Linked DNA regions of Homo sapiens: all the other regions are linked to region 5. The links are contacts of gene promoters, found by promoter capture Hi-C in blood cells and fetal thymus (Javierre and others, 2016). All regions are on one chromosome and are shown on one strand. Each heading gives the region's core, a stretch centred on a gene start or on the middle of the fragment in contact. The rest is flanking DNA. Distances are from core to core; before and after follow the strand shown.

Region 1 (2,700 bases), core at 177-2,676, 160 kb before region 5:
TTAATGTGAAGTTACTTACAGATCTTTAAAAATATCGAGGGATTTAGAATTATTTTGACTGTGTTTACACAGCCCGAAGTGAAAAGAAAATGAGAAAATTTTGTCAACAAATTTAATAAAAGCAGATGGTCAATTCTTAACATTCAAAACTCCCAAGCACCTCGGATTTTTGCCCCAAACTACCTGGAGTGATCACCATTCTGCTGAGTAATTAACTGGTAAATTCCAACTTTAAGAGAGACTGGGGAGGGCAGTGAGGATAGGTTTCTGTTGCTTTTTTAAAAAAGCCACATGCAGCTATCTAACAAACTTTAGATAGCTTGGGAGATCACCAGATCTCCCAAATGAGAATAAACTTCTTGTAAAAATAAATAGCAATTATCTTTAGCCAGTGTTCAAATTTTTGTGATTTTTTTAAATGAAGTATCAGCTGTCTCTGAAAGGGACATTACATCTTTAAAGAAAACAATTCAAACCCTTCCCCAAAATTGCTTCTCTTCATGCAAGTCAAATATTTATCTACTTGCTGTAAATCAAAGCAAGCTCTTCATACCCCGCTCCACGTCAGTTCCTCAGCCCCACCCTGCCCTCCCTTCCCCAAAGTTTATGTGCTACATAAAAGGTAAAAACTATATACACAGGTAGTACAATGAAGCAAATAAGGAAAAACCTAATTGCATAATGCTACATCCAACGCTTTTAGAGGCAGATCATTTAAGAGTGCCTAAAATTTTAGTGTTATTGTGTTGTTGTTTTTCAGTGCTTATACAGGATGTCCATTCCATGAAGTCAGCGATATGTATTTTTAAAATTTTCATGTATATCTTCCTTGCTTCATCAAGCAGTGATGTATCTGATAAACAAGGAAACATATTCTTAATTCTGCAAAAGAAAACAAAACGGAAGAATTAAAGGAAGAGCACTAGATTAACGTTACCAGTAGAGTACAGGAATTATTTTGTCACTATGTTAGCTTGGAAATACTTGATGGGGAAAAAAGTTTGATGACTATAGTCATCTCCACCTAACATTCTCTTAACTGGATTTTTTTTTCCTTTCCTCTGTGCTGTGTTCTTTGGTCTAGAGCAGTAGTTCTTAACAGTAGGCAATGTTGCCCCCGCCCCACAGGGAACATTTGGCAATGTCTGGAGACATTTTAGGTTGTCACACTGGGGGAGGAGGATACTGCTGGCATCTAGTGTGAGAGGCCAGGGATAATTCCAAACAATCTAAAACACACAGGACAGCCTCCTACAACAGAATTATTCGGCCCAAAATGTCATTAGTGCAGAGGCTGAGAAACCCTACTCTAAATAATCTAGGTCAAAGGCAAGTGGGAAATAAATAGGATAATTAGGAAACTGTAATACTTACGGGTAAAAATTTTCTAAATTTTTGAAAATTTTTAATTTTTTTTCTCCTGTGACAGATTAAACTTTCTAAATTTGAAAAATGATTGGGAATAAAAATTATAAAGGCCTTCCAGAGGAAAATTTTATTAACATCATTTTCAAAATATTCTAATTCCTGATTCATATGCAGAAAATACTCATGAATACTTTTGAATAGGTTCTTACTAATATTTCTAGTATTCTTTGAACTAGCAATATTACTAAATCCTACAAATGCCTCATTGCATGTCAGAACAGGGCCAGATCAAAATCCAGGTCTGATTCTCGTGGCTCATCTGATGAGCTAGGCCACAAGTCACAAACCAACAAGGGCTGCGCATGTTAAGGTTGCTTCAGGAAAATTTTCACCTAATTTTCCCACTTCATATGGTGCTGTAAAATGGAGGTTCTATAGTGCCGTTTTGTATAAGCGCTGAAAAAGATATGTGAAGTCACATATACAATTTAAAGACACAACAAACCTGAATCTCACCTTAATCCCTGTTATTTTAAAATTTTTATAACTGGGGATTTAAAAAGTTAACATCAATATTTTATCGCCTCATATGCTAAACTACGTGTGTGCTTTAGAAAATAAAGAGGTCACAGTCTTGGTCTAAAGGAAGCTAATAAACTATTAAAATATGTAGTTTATTATGAATAACCAACCCATGTTGGTTATCTGGGGACTGAATTATTCAAATTAGCTATTTACAGTGATCAGATTCTTGTGCATGGAAAAATCTCCACTTCCTTTGTGCTGGGCTGACCTACGGTCACCAGTCTTGATATTTACTACCCATTTCCCCTACAAATATCCAAATCACCCTGTTACGGCACAATTAGCATACACTGGCTGACGTGTTCCTGGATTGCTTACTGACAAGAGTTAATTTAACTTCTGCTTTGCAACTTCAGTGTTACCAGAAATTCTGTAGAAACTTTAGTAACTTTTTTATCTTTCCATTTGGTTTTTGCAAATACTGGTTCCTTCTCTCTCCAAACTTAGGAGACAACAGGGAAAGTGACAGTTTATTAAAATGTCAAAGAACACAACATACCATCCTATTCACATCTCTAATCCCTTGCATAACCAAAGATGAGCAATTTCTACCAAACATTCCCCCTCAAAATTGAAACTTAATCATGTATTTGCCATTTTTCCATGTATGGCTCAAAATCTGTTACCGACTCAAGCTGAACCTCTAGGAAATTAATTCTCATTAATTCGGACTGAGGGAGTACCCTAGTTCTTGTTCGGATGGGCAAAGAACCTATTGCTCCCAACACGTTTTAGTGGGACTCACAG
Region 2 (2,700 bases), core at 199-2,698, 230 kb after region 5:
CTGGCCCCCTTCTGTTTTATGTTTGGTTTTTGAGAAGGAATGAAGTGGGAACCAAATTAGGTAATTTTGGGTAATCTGTCTCTAAAATATTAGCTAAAAACAAAGCTCTATGTAAAGTAATAAAGTATAATTGCCATATAAATTTCAAAATTCAACTGGCTTTTATGCAAAGAAACAGGTTAGGACATCTAGGTTCCAATTCATTCACATTCTTGGTTCCAGATAAAATCAACTGTTTATATCAATTTCTAATGGATTTGCTTTTCTTTTTATATGGATTCCTTTAAAACTTATTCCAGATGTAGTTCCTTCCAATTAAATATTTGAATAAATCTTTTGTTACTCAGTAGTGTTCTCATAAGTAGCATGTCCAGCTGGATAACTTTCCATTTATTTCCACTAGCAAAATGATTATGTGGTGAAAATATGCGTTCCACGTTAAAATGACAACCCCCCCTTTTTCCCATCAGTGAGCAAAGAGCTTCACTTGGGAGAATCTAGCGGAATGTTAGCCCACATGGAGACAATGATAAGTCAGTTCTGATAAATGGCCATATCCACTTGGGATCTGTTCTAGTTAACTTGTGTGTGTGTGTGTGTGTGTGTGTGTGTGTGTGTGTGTGTGACAGAGTCTTGCTCTGTCACCCAGGCTAGAGTGCAGTGGCGCGATCTCGGCTCACTGCCAGCTCCGCCTCCTGGGTTCCCGCCATTCTCCTGCCTCAGCCTCCCAAGTAGCTGGGACTACAGGCGCCCGCCAACACGCCCAGCTAATTTTTTATATTTTTAGTAAAGACGGGGTTTCACTGTGTTAGTCAGGATGGTCTCGATCTCCTGACCTTGTGATCCGCCCGCCTCGGCCTCCCAAAGTGCTGGGATTACAGGCGTGAGCCACCGTGCCCGGCCTCTAGTTAACTTTTTAAAGAAGTATTATAGACATTTTCTAAACTTGTACTAAGTTAAAAATGTACCACTATTATTTTATATCCTTACTTAAATTGACCAGCAATCAGTCTAAGCTTAATTTAGAACAACATTGGAAATAATAACTAGCACAGGCCAGGCGCGGTGGCTCACGCCTGTAATCCCAGCACTTTGGGAGGCCGAGATGGGCAAATCACGAGGTCAGGAGATCGAGACCATCCTGGCTAACACGGTGAAACCCCGCCTCTACTAAAAATACAAAAAATTAGCCGGGCGTGGTGGCGGGCGCCTGTAGTTCCAGCTACTTGGGAGGCTGAGGCAGGAGAGTAGTTTGAATCCAGGAGGCGGAGGTTGCGGTGAGCCAGATTGCACCATTGCGCTCCAGCCTGGGCAACAGAGCCAGACTCCGTCTCAAAAATAATAATAATAATAACTAGCACTAACATGATGCTACAATTTTTACTGGTTACCAATTAAAATTTCTGAGAAAGGCTTTTAATAAAGTTTTCCAGACAAGTTATAGGTGAGGTAACAAAGAGTCCAGAAGTCCCCTGGGTCAGTTTGATACCTCTTTCCTCTGGACTTCAATTTGCTTATCTGCAAAACAGGAAATTTGATCCCTTCCAAGTGTCACCAGAGTTTTTAAAGATAAAAATGGAATTCAGATGCGAACTTAATACAGTGAGCACTAGAGGGCAGTAGCTGGTTAATAAGTACAGCAATTAAGACAAATGCAGGAAATGACAGAAAAGGCTTTTCTTCTCCTTCCTCCTCACCTCTTCCTTCCTCCTCACCTCCTTCCCCTCTGCTCTTCTGGTACCCCTCCCCCATTTCCCTGGTTTACACTAAGTTCATAAAGTACATTAAGAGGAAAGCTGGTCTATTGAAAATACTACTTTTCTTATATTTTCCAACTTAACAGCTTGACACAAATCTCCAAGGGGTTTACATAAGCTTTAAGTAGGCTGAATAAATAAAACCTTGAGTCAATTTAACTTAACAAGTATTTATTGAATATCCACATGTAGGCCAGAATCAGATTAGTAACCAGGTGCCTTGGAATTTTAAAATTTCTCCTCTCTTTATTAATGGATTTAGCGAGTGGAAATCAGGCTTTCTGTGATGGTTTATAAAGGTATTTTCCTGGCTCTCTTGGAGTTCTCTGTCCACCTTGCTGCAGTCTTTGTTGTGATGGGGAGACCACATGGGAGCGGTCCAGATGAGTGATGCTACGGGCCCAAACTGTTAGTGGCCGTGAGGATATAGGTTGTAGGGGACATCTGGAGTGGAAAGAGTGCTCTTCTCACACAGCTCTCTCTACTTACTGCCCCTAGGATGGTGGGTGCAACTGTGGCAAGGGCAGTCAGGGTAGGGGAATCCCTTAGAGGAATTCAGCAGTGACTAGTCTGGTTAGCCTTTCCCACAAGGCCCATTGAGTTATGAGCCCCCTCCTTTGGTTTGTAGAAAGAGAAGGTAGCAGCCTAGAACAGGTGAGAAGATGAGGTAGGTCCTTCTGCTCAAACATCCTCTCTCCGTATTTTACCAACACGATACTGACCTAGGTTAAAAAGCTACTCTTGGCCAGGCGTGGTGGCTCACGCCTGTAATCCCAGCACTTTGGGAGTCCAAGGTGGGTGGATCACCTGAGGTCAGGAGTTCTAGACCAGCCTGGCCAACATGGTGAAACCCCATCTCTACAGAAATACAAAAATTAGCCAGGCATGGTGGCAGACACCTGTAATCCCAGCTACTTGGGAGGCTGAGGTAGGATAATTGCTT
Region 3 (2,700 bases), core at 134-2,633, 180 kb after region 5:
AGGTCAGGAGTTCGAAACCAGCCCGGCCAACATGGCAAAACCCTATCTCTACTAAAAATACAAAAATTAGACAGGCATGCTGGCACGCGCCTGTAATCCCAGCTACTTGGGAGGCTGAGGCAGGAAAATCACTTGAACCCAGGAGGCAGAGGTTGCAGGAAACTGAGATCGCGCCACTGCACTTCAGCAGCCTGTCGAGCAAGACTTTGTCTCAAAAAAAAAAAAAAAAAAGATATATACCATCATAGAACCATAAGAAAGACAGAATAGTGATATCATTTGGATACTTGTCCCCTCCAAATCTCATGTTAAAATGTGGCCCCTAATGTTGGAGGTGGGGTCTAGTGGGAGATGTATGAGTCATAAGAGCAGATCCCTCAAGAATGGCTTGGTGCCTCCCTGTAGTACCGAGCAAGTCTCCCTCTATTAGTTTATGGGAGAACTGGTTGTTTAAAGGAGTGTGGCACCTCCCCCACCTCTGTCTCCCTCTCTTACCATGTGACATGCCTGCTCCTCCTTCACCTTCCTCCATGATTGAAAGTTTTCTGAGGTCCTTACCAGAAGCAGATGCTGGTGCCACACTTCTTATACAGCTTGCAGAACTGTGAGCCAAATAAACCTCTCTTCTTTATAAATTACCCAGCCTCGGGTATTCCTTTATAGCAACTCAAAGTGGACTAACACAAATGGCTCTATTAATATTAGATAAAATAGAAATAAAGACAGAGAGTAATATTAGAGAACGGTGTTTCATAATGATGAAAGTTGTTACATCATGAAGATATAATAATTCTAAATGTATCCACACCAGCAACATATCCTCAAAACAAATGAAGGAAAAACTGACAGAATCAAAAGGAAAAATACACAATTCAACAAAACAGGTTAATAATTCAGTACCTCACTCTCAATTGATAAAACTAAAGACAAAATCAGTAAGAATATACAAAACTCAAAAAACACTATCAACCAACATAACTGACATATATAAAACTCTCTACCCAATGACTGCAGACTATATAGTCTTTAAAAGCACATATGGTTTATACCTTTCACAAAAATTAAGTCAAAATGGATCGCAGACCTAAATGTAAAATGCAAAACTATGAAAGTCCTAAGCAGTAATACAAGAGAAAATCTAGGTAAGCATGGATTTGGTGATGACTTTTTAGATACAACACCAAAGTACAATCCACGAAATTAAAAATGGGACAGATCAATGGAACAGACCTAAGAGTCCAGAAATAAACCCTTACATTTATGGTCATTTTTTAAAGGTGCTGAGATAATTCAATAAGGGAAAACACAATCTTTTCAACATATGGTACAGGGTCAACTGGATACCACAAGCAAACAAACAAAGCAAAATGAACTTAGACCTTTACACAACACACACAAAGTAATCCAAAAAGGATCACAGGCCTAAATGCAATCACTAAAACTATAAAACTTCTAGGAGAAATCTTTATTAAAAATATTGATACACTGAACTTCATCAAGATTAAAAAAGTTGTACTTCAAAAAATATCAGCCAGGTCAGAAGTTCCAGACCAGCCTGGCCAACATGGTGAAAGCCTGTCTCTACTAAAAACACAAAAATGAGCCAGGCACCCGTAATCCCAGCTACCTGGGAGGCTAAGGCAGGAGAACTGCTTGAACCCAGGAGGTGGAGTTTGCAGTGAGCTGAGATCGCGCCAGTGCACTCCAGCCTGGGCGACAGAGTGAGACTCGGTCTCAAAAAAAAAAAAAAAAAATCCCCCAAAAAATGAAAAGAAAGTCACAGTCTGGGAGAAAATACTGCAAATCATATATCTGATTAAGAGATTGTATCCAGAATAAAGAACTTGTTATAATACAATATAAGTTAAAAACCCAATTTAAAAATGGATAAGAGATTTGAACAGGTATTTCAAGCACACAAAAATAATCTCAACATCATTAGAGAAATGTAAATGTAAACCATAATGAGATACCACTACACAACCACTCTGATGGCTATAATCAGAAATAAAGAGAATACTGAATTCTCATACATTGCTGGAAGGAATGTAAAATGGTAATTTTGAAAAAAGTTTGGCAGTTTCGTAAAAGTAAACACAAAGTTACCATACAACCTACCAATTCCGTTCCTAAGAATCCACCCAAAAGAAATAAAAACACATTCACATGAACACATGGTCACAAAGGTTCATAGCAGCATTATTCATAACAGGCAAAAACTGGAAGTCAGACTCAAAAGAGTATGTATTGTATGATTCCATTTAGATGAAGTGTCCAGAAAAGCTGGCCTGTGGTTGCCTAGGACTGGAGACTGGGAGCAGAATTAACTGCAAACTGGAAATAATTTTGATATGGTCCTCATTCATCTCTTTTTATCTCTGATTAGATCAAGCCATCTTCCATATATAGGCACACCTCATTCTATTCCACTTCAAATTTTTTTTAAATTGTGCTTCACAGATACTGTGTTTTTTTTTACAAATTGAAGATTTGTGGCAGGGTGCTTACTTCATGTCTGTCACATTTTGGTAATTCTTGCAATATTTCAAACTTCCATTATTATGATATCTGTCATGGTGATCTGTGATCAGTGATCTTTGATGTCACTATTGTAATTGTTTTGGGCACCACAAACCACACCCATAGAAAACAGGAAACTTAAACTGAGAAGTGTTGCATGTGCTCTGACTGCTTCACGGA
Region 4 (2,700 bases), core at 143-2,642, 180 kb before region 5:
CCCATGTACAACCTGTGCATGTACCTCCCTGAATATGAAATTTAAAAAAAATTAGAGCATGTTTTCCCATGTTTTCCAATAGTTTTTTAAAATTCTTTATGAAGACATCAGAGTTCATACACGTAGTCATGCACATGTTCACCATTTGGAGCAATATGTATGTATGTATTTATGTATTTATTTATTTATTTATTTGAGATGGAGTTTCACTCTTGTTGCCCAGGCTGGAGTGCAGTGGTGCGATCTCGGCTCACTGCAACCTCCGTCTCCCAGGTTCAAGCGATTCTCCTGCCTCAGCCTCCTGAGTAGCTGGGATTACAGGCATCTGCCACCACACGCAGCTAATGTTTGTATTTTATGTAGAGACAGGGTTTCACCATGTTGGCCAGGTTGGTCTCGAACTCCTGACCTCAGGTGACCCACCCGCCTCGGCTTCCCGAAGTGCTGGGATTACAGGCGTGAGCCACTGCACCCGGCCTGGAACAGGATTTAAGTAAAACCTTTTCTCAACTACAGAGACATACGTTTTAAGCCTTCTTGGATTCCCACCACCCTTCCTTTTGTTCTCTCTTGGTCACTCCTCACTTCCAGACTCGGATGAAATAGCCACACTGCAAGGCGTAAAATTAATTTCCTGAGTGATCACGGAGCTGCCAGATGACACCACATGGCATTCAGGGGATTTAGCTCTGCTAAGTAGTGTGAACCTCAGCCACAAAAAATGGAGACAGGAGGGAGCTGGCAGATAAATGCCCTCTTCCTGATCCCTTTCTCAGACTACTCTGGAGTGCAGCTTCTTCTTGCAACCTTTCTAGAGAATTCCAAGTACAGAGCAAGCATGCGGGCTGAAAGATCTGCTGTAGGCAAGACCACTTGGCATTTTCCTTGCCTTTTGCTTCCCTTTTTCCTCCCCCTTCCCACCTGAAACTATTTGTGCTATTCTGAGTCATCCTGCCCTTGCCTTGAGGCCAATCTCAGCACTTAATACACCTAATCTACCACAAATTCAACGTGTACTGGATGCTTAGAGAGGCAAAGAGAATGTTACACTACACGCAATATAGGAAGCTTTCCATTAAAATATTCTTTGGGTTTCTTTCTTTGCTCAAAAATTGTACAGCTCACTTATGTCTCCTTCCTCTTCTCTTCAGTCTTTTCTTTTCTGAGACAGTCTCGCTCTATTGCATAGGCTGGAGCGCAGTGGCACGATATTGGCCCACCGCAACTTCCACCTCCCTGATTCAACCGATTCTCCAGCCTCAGCCTCCAGAGTAGCTAGGATTACAAGCACCTGCCACCAGGCCCAGCTAGTTTTTGTATTTTTAGTAGAGTTTAGTGGCCAGGCTGGTCACGAACTCCTGACCTCAGGTGATCCACCCGCCTCAACTTCCCAAAGTACTGGGATTACAGGCGTGTGCCACCTCGCCCGGCCTTCTTCAGTCTTCTCCTTGTAAAATTCTCTTTCAAATATCTCCTCATTTTGTGTTGGGTAGAGCAATTTGGTCTTCTCTCTGCCTTTTAATTCTCCTCACAGCCAATCACCCTGCTTAATTCAACAAAGGCCCTCTAGGGAGATGAGTACACAAAGCATTCACTTTTTTTAGACAGGAAGGGAGGTATTGCCAGTACATTATTTTAATACATTTTTCCCTCTAACACACAGGCATAAAACAATAAATTCAAAGCAGGCCAGAAGTAGAGAGAAGAAAAAGCTTTGTCAGGGTGAAGCAAGTATGGGATCCAGGTAGGCACAAGTTCATAGTGATATTTGGTGAAGGGAAAGCAGATCGTGGCACAGGGATCTTGTTCTGTGATCTGCCCCATGAAGTCGGGCAGACAGACACTCTACATAAAACAGGTTCAGAATGAGGCCAAATCACCTGGCAAGAGGAGGCCAGGAGCCAGACAGACACTGAGCACAGGCAACAGGAAAGCAGCTTAATAGGCAATAAACCAAGTTCTAAGGCAGAGCACCCCGGAAATTTATAGTCAGGATCAGAACTGATCCCAGCGGCAGTGTCCAATTCCCATCTCTTAAGTGGACAAATAAATCACCTGCCTAGAGTTGAGAGCTGAGAAATCAGAAACCAAGCAGTTCTTTGTTTTTTGATATGGAGTGCAGTGGTGCGATCTCTGTTCACTGCAACCTCCGCCTCCCAGGTTCAAGCGATTCTCCTGCCTCAGCCTCCTGAGTAGCTGGGATTACAGGTGTGCACCACCAGGCCCAGTTAATTTTTGTAATTTTAGTAGAGATGGGGTTTCACCATGTTAGCCAGGCTGGTCTCGAACTCCTGACCTCAGGTGATCTGCCCACCTCAGCCGCCCACAGTGCTGGGATTACAGACCTGAGCCACCACAGCCAGCCATTTTTTTTTTTTTTTTTTAAGCAGGGTCTGGCTCTATTGCCCAGGCTGGAGTACAGTGGTGCCATCATAGCTCACTGCAGCCTTGATCTCCTAGGCTCAAGTGATCCTCCTGCCTCAGCCTCCCGAGTAGCTGGGACTACAGGTGCACACCGTTCCTTGCTAATTTTTTATTAGTAGAAACGCAGTCTTGCTATGTTCCCCAGGCTGGTCTCAAACTCCTGACCTCAAGTGATCCACCAGCCTCAGCCTCCCAAAGTGTTGGGATTACAGGCATGAGCCACCACGCCCAGCCATCATCAATTTAATATCTTGCAGTACTGTGTGCTAGAAGTCT
Region 5 (2,700 bases), core at 201-2,700:
ATCCCAACACCTCCAACAAAGGTCTACAGTTAGATTTTTAGGGGTTTCCTGGTAGAGCACAAATAATCCCAAGGAAGCTGCAGTAACACCTCCTGGCCACCAGAGGACAGGGAGCAGTGGGAGAGATTTGCTTCCCCTAGCAAAGTCTTCAAGAGGCCAGAGGCACAGGCTCAAAGTTGCTTCTCCATCTGTGGCCTTCAGGCTTTACCTACTACTGCCAGAGGTGCTAGGGTGCCTCCCATCTTCAAATGGGCTTTTTTTTTCCCTCCTATAAAAGATGGGCCAGAAGTTCCCAGGGCCATACCCCGCAACACTAACCTTCAATGATTACCAATCATAAGGAATGCCTTTAGTTGCAGGACTTAAAGGCAGAAAAGTAGTAACAGGGGTGTATTATCTTTCGAACCCACCCAAACCTGCTTATCAGTTCTTTTGCTAGTGGAAAAACGTGCTTTAGGCAGGGTGCACATGGATATCCCACAGCAAACAGTGCCTTTAGGGTCTAGTGTCCCAATCCGGCACATTGTAAATGGAATATTTGAAGAGTTAGATTATTCCTACACATAAATTCTGGCTCATGGAGCAGTCCACTCGCAGGGTGCTTTTCCGTCATTAATCACATCTTTGTTATGTGATATCCACGTGAGTACTTCTCAGTAGAAGCAGCTTCATGCTCAAATGCTCAAAGAACATTGGAATAAAGCTCCGATTGTCCTATTCAGTGATTCCAAGTCCTGGTTTGTCACCACCTCAGGTCTCTCGTTTTCCAAAGTGCATAATGTCATCTCAAAACAGACATTTTAATGAATTCAAATAATAAAATGCACGAGGTATGTGGAGTTAAATCAACAAGGGTTTTGTACCTCTCAAGAGGCGGTTAACCCCTGGTCTTATTTAAAGATGTTTCTGCGCTGCCTCCTGTAGAAAACATTTTTAAAGAAAATGTAGGCTGCTTATCCTTGTATTTGTAAATATAAGCAAAGTAAAGTAATGTAGGAACATTTATGTGGGGGCTTTCAACCATAAACATATAGATAGCTGAATGCCTGACAACAGTAGTGTGATTTTTCTTGAAGTACCTGTAACTTCTCTCCTGAGAGATGGCAGAGCCTTGCCTTTTGCATTCGCCAGACTTTTTACAGAGCGAGTGTAATTCTCTCAAATCAGTGTTTGCGTTTTTTGACGTTGGTGAGGCAGCTGGAAACAGCTCAAGGAGGAGGGAAAGGTTCTGCGTCTGGGTGAGGGAGAAAACCCTCCGATACCTGTTGGGGCGCAGCACTGGAGGCGGACACCCCGGCCCGGGGGTCGGGGCCGCGAGCCCGGGGGTAGGGGGCGGGCGCGCGGGCGCGGGAGGAGGAGGAGGAGGAGGGAGAGGTGGGGGAGGAGGCCGCGGGGCCGCCTCCTCCGGCAGCTCCGGCTCCTCCCAGCGGCGCCCGCGGAACCTGCCTCAGAGTCGCCGGACTCTGGAAGGGAACATGACCTGACCCCTCCCCGAGCGGCCGGAACGAGGCGCGGAGCCGCGCTCCGGGCTCGGGCGGCCGCGGGATGGGCGAGCGCGCGGCCCCGCCCGGCGCCCACCGCCCTGCCCTCGCCTGTCTCCTCCTTTCCCCGGGGCTCCGCTGAGTTCATTCACTGGGATTGGTTTCAAGTGACGCCATCTCTTTATTTTTAAACCAATGACCTCATCCGCGCTTGAAGTTTCCTGACCAGCGACTCTTTCTCTTTCCCCCAACCCCCCACCCCACCCCCCCGCCTTTCCCCCTCTTTCTATGTATCAGTGTTTGGGGGGCTTTAATCAGTTTTTAAACGATTATTACCACCTCTCTCTCCCCCCCAACCCCCACTTTCACAACGCGGCCCCCCACCTTTACCTCCCTAAGTTCTTCATCTCTTTCGACATTTTTTTTGAAGGCTGATGGGGGGGAGGGTGGAAGAGAAAGAGTGAAGAAAAGTTGCGAGCGTCTCCTCTCTTCCTAAGCCTCCCGCCCCAACCCACCCCTCAGAGAAGGAGAAGATAATATACTGAAAAGAAGAGGAGGAGGAGAGCGACGGGACGGGACGCGAGCGGGAGCGCAGCCGCCCTCTCGGCTCCGCGGCGGCGCCTCGCAAGTCCGGGAGGCGAGGGGGGCCCGAGGGGAGACGCCGTGACAACTTTCGTTTCCCTCTGAGGGAATTGGGAGGTCGGCGGCCCCAAAAGTAAGTGGCCTTGGCGGGCCGCGCGGGGTGTGCGGGCGGGAGGGTGCGGGGCCCGGGGCGCCCTCCCGCCCGGCCGCATGGACGCTCCGCAGCGCGCCCCGACTCCCGGTGCCGGGCGCCGCGCTCCAGCCCCGCCGTCTCTGCCTTCCCGGGCGTACCGGCCACCCTTTCGGGAGGCGGCGTGGGGGCGACCGCGGCCGGGGGCCGCAGGAGCGTTTGAAGCGGGGGTGTAGGCCTGGCCGGAGGCTGGCCGGAGCGGGAAGGGGGCGTGCGGCCGGGCGCGGGGTCGCAGTGGGTGCGCTCCCGGCCGCTGCGCGGCGCTTGGACCGGGCCCCGCCGAGAGGAGCGGCCGCCGCGGGACGCGGCACCTTTGCGGGCGAAGCTGCTCACTTCCAGGCGCGACTGTTACACAACACGCCTGCCAAGTGGGGCCCTGGCCTGACTGTTCCCATTATCCCCAGTTCGCCTTTGGTGTAAGCAGCGAGGCCACCTGGGTGGTGACGG

The links. Contacts are between HindIII fragments. The CHiCAGO score rates a contact against its expected background, and 5 or more counts as called.
Region 1: a fragment that was not itself captured here is called in contact with the fragment with the promoter of DUSP16 in region 5 in 1 of 17 cell types (naive CD8 T cells); the score reaches 5.6 in naive CD8 T cells.
Region 2: a contact is called between a fragment that was not itself captured here and the fragment with the promoter of DUSP16 in region 5, in 2 of 17 cell types (total CD8 T cells and neutrophils). The highest score is 6.3, in total CD8 T cells.
Region 3: a contact is called between a fragment that was not itself captured here and the fragment with the promoter of DUSP16 in region 5, in 17 of 17 cell types (naive CD4 T cells, non-activated CD4 T cells, total CD8 T cells and 14 more). The highest score is 21.3, in naive CD4 T cells.
Region 4: a fragment that was not itself captured here is called in contact with the fragment with the promoter of DUSP16 in region 5 in 3 of 17 cell types (naive CD8 T cells, non-activated CD4 T cells and total CD8 T cells); the score reaches 6.2 in naive CD8 T cells.

The regions. Positions count from the first base shown.
Region 1 is chr12:12,719,218-12,721,917 of GRCh38, reverse strand. CDKN1B (cyclin dependent kinase inhibitor 1B) reads right to left here. Exons shown (of 3, transcript NM_004064.5): 3 at 1-882. Among named protein-coding and RNA genes, the nearest start is that of CDKN1B, 3.2 kb to the right of the region's middle. RefSeq lists enhancers at 2,297-2,346, 2,417-2,496. The HindIII fragment of the contact is 2,899 bases long and covers 1-2,700 here.
Region 2 is chr12:12,326,910-12,329,609 of GRCh38, reverse strand. It overlaps MANSC1 (MANSC domain containing 1), which reads left to right. Exons shown (of 4, transcript NM_018050.4): 4 at 1-2,700. Among named protein-coding and RNA genes, the nearest start is that of MANSC1, 22 kb to the left of the region's middle. The HindIII fragment of the contact is 859 bases long and covers 1,019-1,877 here.
Region 3 is chr12:12,380,066-12,382,765 of GRCh38, reverse strand. The region is part of intron 2 of BORCS5 (BLOC-1 related complex subunit 5); the gene reads right to left. Among named protein-coding and RNA genes, the nearest start is that of BORCS5, 24 kb to the right of the region's middle. RefSeq lists an enhancer at 1,277-1,571. The HindIII fragment of the contact is 7,704 bases long and covers 1-2,700 here.
Region 4 is chr12:12,743,992-12,746,691 of GRCh38, reverse strand. It overlaps a transcript of APOLD1 not described here. Among named protein-coding and RNA genes, the nearest start is that of MIR613, 19 kb to the left of the region's middle. The HindIII fragment of the contact is 644 bases long and covers 1,071-1,714 here.
Region 5 is chr12:12,561,613-12,564,312 of GRCh38, reverse strand. DUSP16 (dual specificity phosphatase 16) reads left to right here and starts at 1,450. Exons shown (of 7, transcript NM_030640.3): 1 at 1,450-2,196. RefSeq lists silencers at 1,141-1,650, 2,101-2,180, 2,211-2,330, 2,351-2,550. The HindIII fragment of the contact is 13,074 bases long and covers 1-2,700 here.